Linked DNA regions of Homo sapiens: all the other regions are linked to region 1. The links are contacts of gene promoters, found by promoter capture Hi-C in human tissues and cell types (Jung and others, 2019). All regions are on one chromosome and are shown on one strand. The core of a region is centred on a gene start or on the middle of the fragment in contact, and the rest is flanking DNA. Distances in the headings are between cores, read along the strand shown.

The links. The method cuts DNA at HindIII sites, captures the fragments that hold promoters and counts their contacts. A contact is called where the count stands out against the background at its distance.
Region 2: a fragment that was not itself captured here is called in contact with the fragment with the promoter of NPRL3 in region 1 in 1 of the 25 tissues and cell types used here (dorsolateral prefrontal cortex).
Region 3: a contact is called between the fragment with the promoter of WFIKKN1 here and the fragment with the promoter of NPRL3 in region 1, in 2 of the 25 tissues and cell types used here (dorsolateral prefrontal cortex and lymphoblastoid cells).

Annotation. Positions count from the first base shown.
Region 1 is chr16:137,421-141,092 of GRCh38, forward strand. It overlaps NPRL3 (NPR3 like, GATOR1 complex subunit), which reads right to left and starts at 1,253. Exons shown (of 14, transcript NM_001077350.3): 1 at 1,222-1,253; 2 at 730-914. The coding sequence starts at 847. RefSeq lists a silencer at 683-912 and an enhancer at 1,133-1,182. The HindIII fragment of the contact is 17,392 bases long and covers 1-3,672 here.
Region 2 is chr16:501,499-505,298 of GRCh38, forward strand. It overlaps RAB11FIP3 (RAB11 family interacting protein 3), which reads left to right. Exons shown (of 14, transcript NM_014700.4): 7 at 1,506-1,599. Among named protein-coding and RNA genes, the nearest start is that of LINC00235, 24 kb to the right of the region's middle. The HindIII fragment of the contact is 7,970 bases long and covers 1-3,800 here.
Region 3 is chr16:628,886-632,960 of GRCh38, forward strand. It overlaps WFIKKN1 (WAP, follistatin/kazal, immunoglobulin, kunitz and netrin domain containing 1), which reads left to right and starts at 2,100. Exons shown (of 2, transcript NM_053284.3): 1 at 2,100-2,539; 2 at 3,697-4,075. The coding sequence starts at 2,369. RAB40C (RAB40C, member RAS oncogene family) reads left to right here. Exons shown (of 6, transcript NM_021168.5): 6 at 1-383. RefSeq lists enhancers at 725-1,458, 984-1,278, 1,459-2,193. The HindIII fragment of the contact is 11,828 bases long and covers 1-4,075 here.

The sequences.
Region 1 (3,672 bases), core at 3-2,502:
GCGACGTTCCCTTTTCCTGTGGATAGATCTGCATCTATGCACAGGGCAGACAACTCCCAACACGGCCAGGGGTGATCCCTGTGCTTGCTAGAACTGGGGGTGGCAAAGACAACTTCAGATGTTCACGTAACTTTTTTTTTTTTTTTTGAGACGGAGTCTTGCTCTGTTGCCCAGGCTGGAATCCAGTGGCGCGATCTCGGTTCACTGAAACCTCCGCCTCCCGGGTTCAAGCAATTCTCCTGCCTCAGCCTCCCAAGTAGCTAGGATTATGGGCACGCACCACCACGCTCGGCTAATTTGTTTTTTTTTATTTTTATTTTTTCAGTAGAGACAGAGTTTCAACCATGTTGGCCAGGCTGGTCTCGAACTCCTGACCTCAGGTGATCCACCCGCCTCGGCCTCCCAAAGTGCTGGGATTACCGCCACCGGCCTTGTTCGTGTAATTTTGTATTTTCTCATGATGAATACATCCCAAACTCATTTTATTTTATTTTACTTTATTTTTTAAAGGCTGGAGACTGATGAAATGTCAGCAGTAGTTGCTTTGGTGTGGTGAACAATGCATGATTTTAATTTTTTTTTTCCTTTTTCTACTTTTCAAATACTCTACAACGAGCAGATCTCGAATGCCCAGCAAAAGCTAAGCTCCGCGAGGCGGCCCTGGAATGAGGCGACCCCGGAATGAGGCGGCCCCCGCGAGCGCCAGGCCCCCGCCCAGCGCTCACTTACTTGTCTGGGACGCCGGGTGCTCCTGGCTTCTCTGGAAGGGGTACCTGAACAGCAGCTTATTGCCCCTGCTCCCCGAGCTCACCAGAATCACGCTGATGGGGCTGGTGTTGTCCCGCATCCCGCCGTGGGGCCGGGGCCGGGGGCGGAGGGGGCCAGAGGAGGACGGAGCCGGAGGCGGAGGGGGCCTGAGGAGGACGGAGCCGGAGGCGGAGGGGGCCTGAGGAGGACGAGGCGGGGACGCAGGGGGCCTGAGGAGGGCAGGGGTGGAGGCGGAGGGGGCCTGAGGAGGGCAGGGGTGGAGGCGGAGGGGGCCTGAGGAGGGCAGGGGTGGAGGCGGAGGGGGCCTGAGGAGGGCAGGGGTGGAGGCGGAGGGGGCCTGAGTAGGGCAGGGGTGGAGGCGGAGGGGGCCTGAGGAGGGCAGGGGTGGAGGCGGAGGGGGCCTGAGGAGGACAGGGGTGGTGGTGGACGCGGAGCAGCGCCACAGTTACCAACCCACGTGCCACGCTCCGGGCTCGCGAGACTTCGGCGACACCGTCCGGAGGAGGTGCTAAGGCGGCGGCCGGGAGAACGGCGCAGGCGCAGGCGCAGGCGCAGGCAGCGGAATGCGCAGGCGCGGGGCCTTCTGGAAGCCACCGAGTTCCGCGGTGCTGTCTGGAGCCGTACGGTTCGCGTTTGGGGCACAGGGGCCCCTCTTGCTGGTGCGGATGGGAAAGGCGCGGGGTCGAGTCAGCGTCCCTCTCGATGTTGGTTTCTTCGTTTTACAAATAACACTTGGGCGGGGCGCGGTGGCTCACGCCTGTAATCCCAGCATTTTGGGAGGCCGAGGCGGGCGGATCACGAGGTCAGGAGATCGAGACCATCCTAGCTAACATAGTGAAACCCCATCTCTACTAAAAATTAGAAGAAATTATCCGGGCGTGGTGGCAGGCGCCCGTAATCCTAGAGGAGAATCGCTTGAACCCGGGAGGCGGAGGTTGCATTGAGCCAAGATCACGCCATTGCACTCCACCCTGGGCGACAGAGCGACGAGACCCCGTATCAAAAAAAAAAAAAAGAAAGAAAGAAAGAAAAAAGAAAAAAAAAAGGCCGGGCGCGGTGGCTCACGCCTGTAATCCCAGCACTTTGGGAGGCCGAGGCGGGTGAATCACGAGGTCAGGAGTTCGAGACCATCCTGGCCAACATGGTGAAACCCCGTCTCTACAAAAAAAAAAAAAAAAATTAGCCGGGCGTGGTGGCGGGCGCCTGTAATCCCAGCTACTCGGGAGGCTGAGACAGGAAAATCGCTTGAACCCGGGAGGCGGAGCTTGCGGTGAGCCGAGATTGCGCCACTGCACTACAGCCTAGGCGACAGAGCGAGACTCCGTCTCAAAAAAAAAAAAAAAAAAAAAAAACACTTGGAAGCCGACAGGAGATCTTTGAGACCTTGGGCGAGGCAGTGACACTAAAGGCAGGAGCGACTACAGAAGAATAAATTAAACTTCATCAGATTAAAAACTTTACTGCGGCCGGGCGCGGTGGCTCACGCCTGAAATCCCAGCACTTTGGGAGGCCGAGGTGGGCAGATCATGAGATCAGGAGATCTAGACCATCCTGGCCAACATGGTAAAACCCCGTCTCTCTACTAAAAATACAAAAATTAGCTGGGTTTGGCGGCGCCTGCTTCTAATCCCAGCTACTCGGGAGGCTGAGGCAGGAGAATCGCTTGAAGCCGGGAGGCGGAGGTTGCAGTGAGCCGAGATCGTGCCACTGAACTCTGGCCTGGCGACAGAGCGAGACTCCATCTCAAAACAAAACAAAAACTTCGGTGCTTTAAAGGACACCATCAAGAAAATTAAAAGTCCACCCACAGAACGGGAGAAAATATTTGTAAGTTACATATCTGATAAGGGAATTGTATCTAGAATGGAGGAAACTTACAACTCAACAATAAAAAGACAATTGAAAAATGCACAAAGGATATGAATATTTTTCCAGTGCATTATGCAAATGGCCAATAAGCACCAGAAGATGCTCAGCTCAACTGGTAGAGGCTTACGCCTGTGACCCCAGCGCTGAGAGGCCAGGAACTCCAGACCAGCCTGGGCAAAACAGAAATTAAAAATGCTCAACATTATTAGGCATTAGGGAGATGCAAATCAAAACTACAAATAGATGCCACATCACACCTCCTACGATGGCTGTAATCAAAAAGACAAGCGTCAGCAGGGGTGTGGAGAAACGGGAATCTCTCTCCTGCTGGTGGGAATGTAAGAGGCTACACTCGCTATGGAAAACAGGCTGGCAGTTCCTGAAAGGTTAGAGTTAACACAACACTCGGCAAATCCCCCTTTTAGATATATAGCCAAGAGAAATGAAAGCATATGTCCACACAAAAACATGTGTGTTCTTAGTAATATTATTCATAATAGCCCAAAGTGGAAGCAATCCTAGGGTATATCAATTGATGAATGGGTGAATATGGTATAGTTTGTTTAAGGGAATACTATTCAGCCATAAAAAGGAATGAAGTACGGCACATGAATCCATCTTGAAGACACACTAATATATGATTCCATTTATATAAGATGCCCAGAATAGGCAAATCCATAGAGACAGAATGATTAGTGGCTGCCTAGGGCTTCCAGGGGGTCAGGGGAAATATGGAGCGATTCATGGGTTTTTTGAAGGGGAGTGATGAAAATGTTCTAACGTTGACTGTGGTAATGGTTGGACAGCTCTGAGAACGCGAATACACTAAAAGACATGGAAGTGCCGGGCGCAGTGGCTCATGCCTGTAATCCCAGCGCTTTGGGAGGCCAAGGCAGGCGGATCGCGAGGTCAGGAGATCGAGACCATCCTGGCTAAGACAGTGAAACCCCGTGTCTACTAAAAATACAAAAAATTAGCTGGACATGGTGCGGGCGCCTGTAGTCCCAGATACTCAGGAGGCTGAGGCAGGAGAAT
Region 2 (3,800 bases), core at 1,231-3,730, 370 kb after region 1:
CCCCCATTTCATAGGCAAGGAAGCTCGGAGAGGGTCCCCCATTTCACAGGCAAGGAAGCTGGGAGAGGGTCCCCCATTTCATAGGCAAGGAAGCTGGGAGAGGGTCCCCCCATTTCACAGGCAAGGAAGCTGGGAGAGGGTCCCCCCATTTCACAGACAAGTTCAGAGAGGCTCCCCCCATTTCATAGGCAGGGAAGCTGGGAGAGGGTCCCCCCATTTCACAGACAAGTTCGGAGAAGGTCCCCCATTTCATAGGCAAGGAAGCTGGGAGAGGGTCCCCCCATTTCACAGGCAAGGAAGTTCAGAGAGGGTCCCCCCATTTCACAGACAAGGAAGTTCGGAGAGGATCCCCCATTTCATAGGCAAGGAAGCTGGGAGATGGTCCCCCCATTTTATAGGCAAGGAGTCTGGGAGAGTGTCCCCCCATTTCATAGGCAAGGAGGCTGGGAGAGGGTCCCCCCATTTCATAGGCAAGGAGGCTGGGAGAGGGTCCCCCCATTTCATAGGCAAGGAAGCTCGGAGAGGGCCAGTGCTTTTTAACGGTCACGCAGTTCTGAGCATCAGGCTGTCAGCCTGGAGCCTGGCTTGGTACTGAGGTTCCCAGGATGTATAAAGAACTGAACACGCACCTTTGCTGTTGGCTCTTCTGTGCGAGTGCTCTGAGAGTTTTCTGTACTCCCGGCAAGTTTGGGTTGGTACAGATTCACCACAGCGAATCTGACCACGTGGTGACCACAAGCACGCGCTTACTGCGCGCCTAAGTTCACACTCCCTGGAGAAGCTCCTGCCCCAAGGCCGCAGCCTATGGGCCTTTGCGTCTACTCAGGACCATGAGGCTGTGTCCCCGAGCCTGGCCCGGGTAGTAACTGGCATGGCCTGCGGTGCTGGGGGCGTGTCCACAGGAGCTGGTGCCACAGAGGACACGTGTGTCTGCTGTCTTCCTGGACTCGGTCGGACCAGTTTCCCAGTGTGTCCGTGAGGGTGACACTGAGTGAGACTTCTGGGATCCACACCTTTCCTGGGACCCTCACTCTTCCTGCCACAGAAAGCACCTGTGAAAGTCTGAGATCAAGAATGTGCACAGGGGAGGTGTCTGCAGGTCAAGGTCCTGAGCTGATGTCTCACAGGCCTCTGGTAGAGACGAGATTGTTCGTGTCTCTGCGAAGAAGGGCATGTTTTATTGCAGCCAAGTACAAAGTCCTCTCTGCCACTCGCTGGCTGGGACTGAGGTCATGTTCTGTCAGGTTCCAAAGAGCGCCAGGAAGACTCTGAGACCACAGAGCACGGCCTGCTTTCTCCCAGCCCCTGGTAAAGATGTCCAGCCTGGGACCTCCCCCTGTATATAGTGCTTTAAGTGGGAGAAGACCACCACCCAGATCAGGGGAGGACCTGTCCCCTGCAATGCTGCTGCCTGCTTTTCAGATTGACTTGGGAGTGCTTGTGCTGACGGAGCATGTCCTGTGGTTTTTCCCTTTCTTCCCTCTGTTGTTGTGCCTTTTCTGTAGGTACCTGCACCAGTCAGGGGCCCTGACCATGGAGGCCCTGGAGGACCCTTCCCCCGAGCTCATGGAGGGCCCAGAGGAGGACATTGCTGACAAGGTAGGCCCTGGAGGGCTGGGTAGGTGGCAAGTAGGGGATTTAGAACACAGCCACGCCTAAGGGCCGCTGCAGACACCCCGGGAGGTGGGGACAGCACAGCCGGAGGTGACCCCATGTCCTCCAGGGCTCCCCAGACTGTCCATCCAGCCCCGATGCTCTTTGGCAGGTTTCCCCAAGGGGTCTCGTGGCCATGTGAGAAAAAGGAGTCTTCCTGTTGTGCACGAAGGGCCAGCTGGGAGGAGTGGACTGGGCAGTGAGTGAGCACCCTCGGGTATCCCACCCCCACTGTGTCTGAGTCGGGCTGGGGGACACCCAGACATTCAGTCCACCAGGCCCATGGAGACGCGACCTGGGGCACCCATGATTTGGGAGAAAAGGGCTGGCCCTGCAGTTACTGCAGAGCCAACAGCCTGAGGAACGGGCTTCTCCTGGGGCCTTGAATGGAATGGGTGACAGCAGCCAGGGCAAGGCAGCCTTGCCGTGGTCAAGACCCGCTTTTCAGCCAGATGTGGTGGCTCACGCCTGGAATCCCAGCACATTAGGAGGCCTAGGCGGGCAGATCACTTGAGGTCAGGAGTTTGAGATCAGCCTGGCCAACATAGTGAAAACCCGTCTCTACTAAAAATACAAAAGTTAGCCACGCATGGTGGCGGGCAACTGTAATCCCAGCTATTTGGGAGGCTGAGGCAGGAGAATCACTTGAACCTGGGAGGTGGAGGTTGCAGTGAGCCGAGATTGCACGACTGCACTCCAGCCTGGGCGACAGAGGGAGACTCCGTCTCACCTTCTGCACCCCCTCACCTTCTGTGACCCCTTCACTTACTCCTGTACCCCCTCAATTCCTCCTGTACCCCTCATCTCCTCCTGTACCCCCTCACCACCTCCTGTACCCCCTCACCACCTCCTGTACCCCCTCACTACCTCCTGTACCCCCTCACTACCTCCTGTACCCCCTCACCTCCTCCTGTACCCCCTCACCTCCTTGTGTACCCCCTCACCTCCTGTACCCCCTCACCTCCTCCTGTACCCCCCCACCTCCTCCTGTACCCCCTCACCTCCTCTTGCACTCCCATCTCCTCCTGTACCCCCTCACCTCCTTGTGCACCCCCTCACCTCCTGTACCCCCTCACCTCCTCCTGTACCCCCTCACCTCCTCCTGTACCCCCTCACCTCCTCCTGTACCCCCCTCACCTCCTCCTGTACCCCCTCACCTCCTCCTGCACTCCCATCTCCTCCTGTACCCCCTTACCTCCTTGTGCACCCCTCACCTCCTGTACCCCCTCACCTCCTCCTGTACCCCCCTCACCTCTTCCTGCACTCCCATCTCCTCCTGTACCCCCTCACCTCCTTGTGCACCCCTCACCTCCTGTACCCCCTCACCTCCTCCTGTACCCCCCTCACCTCTTCCTGTACCCCCTCACCTCCTCCTGCACTCCCATCTCCTCCTGTACCCCCTCACCTCCTTGTGCACCCCTCACCTCCTGTACCCCCTCACCTCCTCCTGTACCCCCCTCACCTCTTCCTGTACCCTTCACTTCCTCCTGTACCCCCTCACCTCCTCCTGCACCCCCCTTACCTCCTGTACCCCCTCACCTCCTCCTGTACCGCCTCACCTCCTCCTATACCCCCTCACCTCCTCCTATACCCCCTCACCTCTTCCTGCACCCTCCTCACCTCCTCCTGCACCCCCATCTCCTCCTGTACCCCCCTCACCTCCTGTACCCCCTCATCTCCTGTACCCCCTTACCTCCTCCTGCACCCCTCACCTCCTGTACCCCCTCACCTCCTCCTGCTCCCCCACCTCCTCCTATACCCCCATCTCCTCCTGTACTCTCTCACCTCCTCCTGTACCTCCTCACCTCCTCCTGTACTTCACCTCCTCTTGCATCCCCACCACCTCCTCCCTACAACTTCTCTAGCATCTCAAGTCTGCTGACCCAGGCCAAGTCCTCCTCTGCTCCCTTCACTCCTTCTCCTACCTCCGCAGGTGTCTGATTCTCATCTTGGTGTGAACTCTCTGAGGGAGGGACCGAGACATGGATCTGTCTGTCCCTTGCATCCATGGGCACCTGGGCTGCCTCTGTGAGCTGCATCTGGCTGAGCAGAGACCCAACTGTGTGTTGGGGGGCTGAGTCTTGCTGCCCACCAGCCAGCCAGTCCAAAGGCACCCCTGGGCCCCGAGCCCTCAGAGCTGCGGCACT
Region 3 (4,075 bases), core at 850-3,349, 490 kb after region 1:
CTCCGCGGCACATGCTTCCCAAGGTGGTCCCACGGAGGGTGTTACTGGGCACCAGTGGACTCGCCCCATGGCCCGTTCCTGGGAGATGAGGGCCGTGGCCTGCATGAACTACCAGATGAGTAAGGGAACCCCAGGCAGGCGGCCCTGCCACAGCCCCCAAAGACACTGGCCTCCTGCTCCAGCTTCCCTGTCCTGGCCCCACCTGTCCTGTTGCTGCCAGCAGGGCCCTTGTTTGGGATTATGAACAAACCTCACAGACTTTGAGGACCTGGATGGTCCTGCATTCACGGCATCAACACTACCCGCGCTGCTGTTAGACACTCCGCCATTCCTGGTTCTCTCCGAACCGTTCTTTGTACAGTAAATGTAATTCAGCTGTGGTCCCCACGTTTTGCTGTGTCTGGTGGGGTGGGTCTGGCAGTGGCGGTGCCCCGTGCCAGGGGCCAGTGCTGCTTCATACCCGGCAAACTGACCTCTGGCCTTTGTTTTGCCTGCTGTTCCCTGCGCTGACCGGGCTGACCTGCCGCGGTTGGCTGGGTTCGCCTCAAAGTGAGGGCTGGAGCTGGGCTGGAGCAGCTGGGCCTGGTCACGGCCATTCTCCTCTTCCCGGTGGATGGAATCCCAGCTGGGCTGTGCTGAGCCCTCGCTCACAGTCCCCGGCAGCAGATGGCCTGGGGCGGACTGTCCCCAACAGCAGCAGGACTCCAGAGGGCCAGGTCCTCCAGTCAGTCGGCCCGCTCAGCAGAGCCGCCTGCACGCTGGCCAATCTGGTGTCTGCTATGCCCGGCCCAGGGGGGTGTGGACGCCCCGGAGGTCACAGCTGAGCTGGAACGGGGCACTCCAGTTGGTACAGGGACCAGACCACAGCCTCTGGCTCAGGTGCCTCCCTGTGCTGTTTCGTGGGCATGTCCGGGCCTTAAGCCCCTCCCTGGCAGCTCCAGCCCAGCCGCCTGCTGCTGGGTCTGGCCTAGCTACCCCCACCCCCACGCTATCAGGGCCCACCCCCAGTCTCCTTGTAGAGCAGGGACTGGCGCCTGGAGCCGTCTCCGGGTCTCATTCTGACCAGACCAGGCTCCTGTTACCCTGCCTCCTGGGTCAGAGGTCAGACACAGGGTCAGGGGGACACTCCCATCCGGTCTCAAGAGAACCACTCCCTGAGGCCCCAGACATCTGGAGCCACAGAGGGTTTGGAAGGGTAGATTCCAGGCAGCCTTTTGTCCTGCTGCACCAGGCAGGCCAGCCCCCTGCCCTCCCCAACGAAGAGGAGCCAGCCTGGGGATGTGTGCCCCGCCGACGGGGGGCTGGGGCAGGGCAAGGCTCTGGTGCCCTGGGACACTTGCTCTTTTCAGCTGCAGACGCCCTTGCACTTGGCCTTCCCTCGGGCGGTGCCATCCCACGCGGAGCCACGTCCAGGGCTACACGGTGCGTGGGCCGAGGCTCCGGCATCAGCGTTTCGGGCTGTTCTTATGCTTGTGGTGGCCACAGGCCTCTTCCTGCTGCACCTGCCCCGCCTTGGGGACAGGCCTGAGCCCCAAGCCCGCTGCCTGGTTTCAGGGATGGGGTCTCTGGGAATGCAGTCCTGCCGGGTTGGGCCCCACTCCAACAGGGGCAGCAGAGCAGAGGAGGCCGGGCTGTGCTGGGCGTCCTGCAGACCCCTGTGCCCCTGAAACAGCCATGGAGGGGGGAAGGAACCTCGGAGCGGAGTGAAGCCCTCGGCCGCACGTGACCGTTGCCAGCCTGGACCTGGCCCGGGGGACCCAGGCTGTGGTCAGCCACGCTCTGCGGGGAGGGCCCGTGCCTGCCACCCCCATGGCATAGGAGCCTGGGGTCCAGAGGGCGCCAGGGACAAAAGCTGGGATCTGCTGGCCCTGCCCCCACCCTACTGAGGGTCGTCAAGGAGATTGATCTCAGCCCAGGGGTGGACGAAGGGGTTCAGGTTACAGGGTCCCCTCCCCTCCCCCTCTCCAGCCAGAGCCAGCCCTTCCCCGCCCCGGTGACCCTCATGGCCAGTGGCTCTGTGCTCATGGGCCTCTGGCCCCTCCCCAACCTCCTCCCCTCTGCCCTGTGCTGACCAGGGCCTGGGAGCCCCCGCACGGTTCAGACAGAGGGGCCAGGCTGAAGCTGGAGAGGAACCAGCGTCACACAGACGGCCTCTGAGAACTTGGAGACCCCGTTACCCACCCAGCAGGGGTGTCAGGACAAGCATCTGCTGCAGGCTTCAGCCTCAGGGGCAAAAGGGAGCCCCGGGGTCCTGGTGGGGGCACCGACCACAGGCCCGGAGGGTGGATGCCTGCAGGAAGCTGGGCTCTGTGGAGCCCGAGGAGGGGCTGGTGGCCACACCCCCCGGCCCCCTGGCTCGGCGGCCCTCATGCCCGCCCTACGTCCACTCCTGCCGCTCCTGCTCCTCCTCCGGCTGACCTCGGGGGCTGGCTTGCTGCCAGGGCTGGGGAGCCACCCGGGCGTGTGCCCCAACCAGCTCAGCCCCAACCTGTGGGTGGACGCCCAGAGCACCTGTGAGCGCGAGTGTAGCAGGGACCAGGTGAGTGTGGTCGGGCCGGGGTCCTGGGGCTCAGAGCAGCCAGCCTGGGCAAGACCCTGCTGGAGGTGCCACCTTCTGCCTGGGCTCCCCAGACTTCTGGGGGGTCTGGGTCTGGGCCCCTTAAGGGGCCCAGAGACACCCCCATCGTTGCCCTCATTTGTCTTAAGAATAAGAGCCCTCCCCACTCCAGCTTTCATGCTCCCCATGTGCCTCCACCCTGGGGCACCATCATCCTCGGCGACCACCCCCACCCCGTCACTGCCTCTCCTCCCACCCTCTCCTCCCACCCTCTCCTCCCATCCACTTCTCCCACCCCTTCACTGCCTCTCCTTCCATCCTCTCCTCCCACCCTCTCCTCCCATCCACTCCTCCCATCCACTTCTTCCATCCTCTTCTCCCACCCCGTCACTGCCTCTCCTTCCATCCTCTCCTATCCACTCCTCCCATCCACTTCTTCCATCCTCTTCTCCCACCCCATCACTGCCTCTCCTTCCATCCTCTCCTATCCACTCCTCCCATCCACTTTTTCCATCCTCTTCTCTCACCCCGTCATTGCCTCTCCTTCCATCCTCTCCTCCCATCCACTTCTCCCACCCCTTCACTGCCTCTCCTCCCACCCTCTCCTCCCATCCACTCCTCCCATCCACTCCTCCCATCCACTTCTTCCATCCTCTTCTCCCACCCCGTCACTGCCTCTCCTTCCATCCTCTCCTCCCACCCTCTCCTTCCATCCTCTCCTCCCACCCTCTCCTTCCATCCACTGTCCTCCCTGTCCTCCCACCCTCCTTCCATCCGGGACCAGTGCAGATGGTGGTGGGGGTGCTGCAGCCGATGTCCAGCCTTTGTCCTGGCCCGCACCACCTGCTGGGTGGTCCTGAGCACTGTACGCCCTCCTTGGGCCTCAGTTTCCTCGTCTGTACAACGTAAAGAATAACGGAACTTGCTTGTGGGTGTGAGGATTCTGGAAGGTAAGCCAGGTGGCACCTCTGGCGAGGTGGCTCCTCACACAGGATGGAAAGGACACTGAGTCCCCGGGGAGGCAGCCACAGAGCGGGGGGCTCCCTGCTACCCCACCTGGGCCTCCCCTTGCAGGGGCCAGGCCAGAGCCCCGGGGCGGGGGGCATTGGGGCTCCCACCTAAGTGTCCCCCATCCCCAGGACTGTGCGGCTGCTGAGAAGTGCTGCATCAACGTGTGTGGACTGCACAGCTGCGTGGCAGCACGCTTCCCCGGCAGCCCAGCTGCGCCGACGACAGCGGCCTCCTGCGAGGGCTTTGTGTGCCCACAGCAGGGCTCGGACTGCGACATCTGGGACGGGCAGCCCGTGTGCCGCTGCCGCGACCGCTGTGAGAAGGAGCCCAGCTTCACCTGCGCCTCGGACGGCCTCACCTACTACAACCGCTGCTATATGGACGCCGAGGCCTGCCTGCGGGGCCTGCACCTCCACATCGTGCCCTGCAAGCACGTGCTCAGCTGGCCGCCCAGCAGCCCGGGGCCGCCGGAGACCACTGCCCGCCCCACACCTGGGGCCGCGCCCG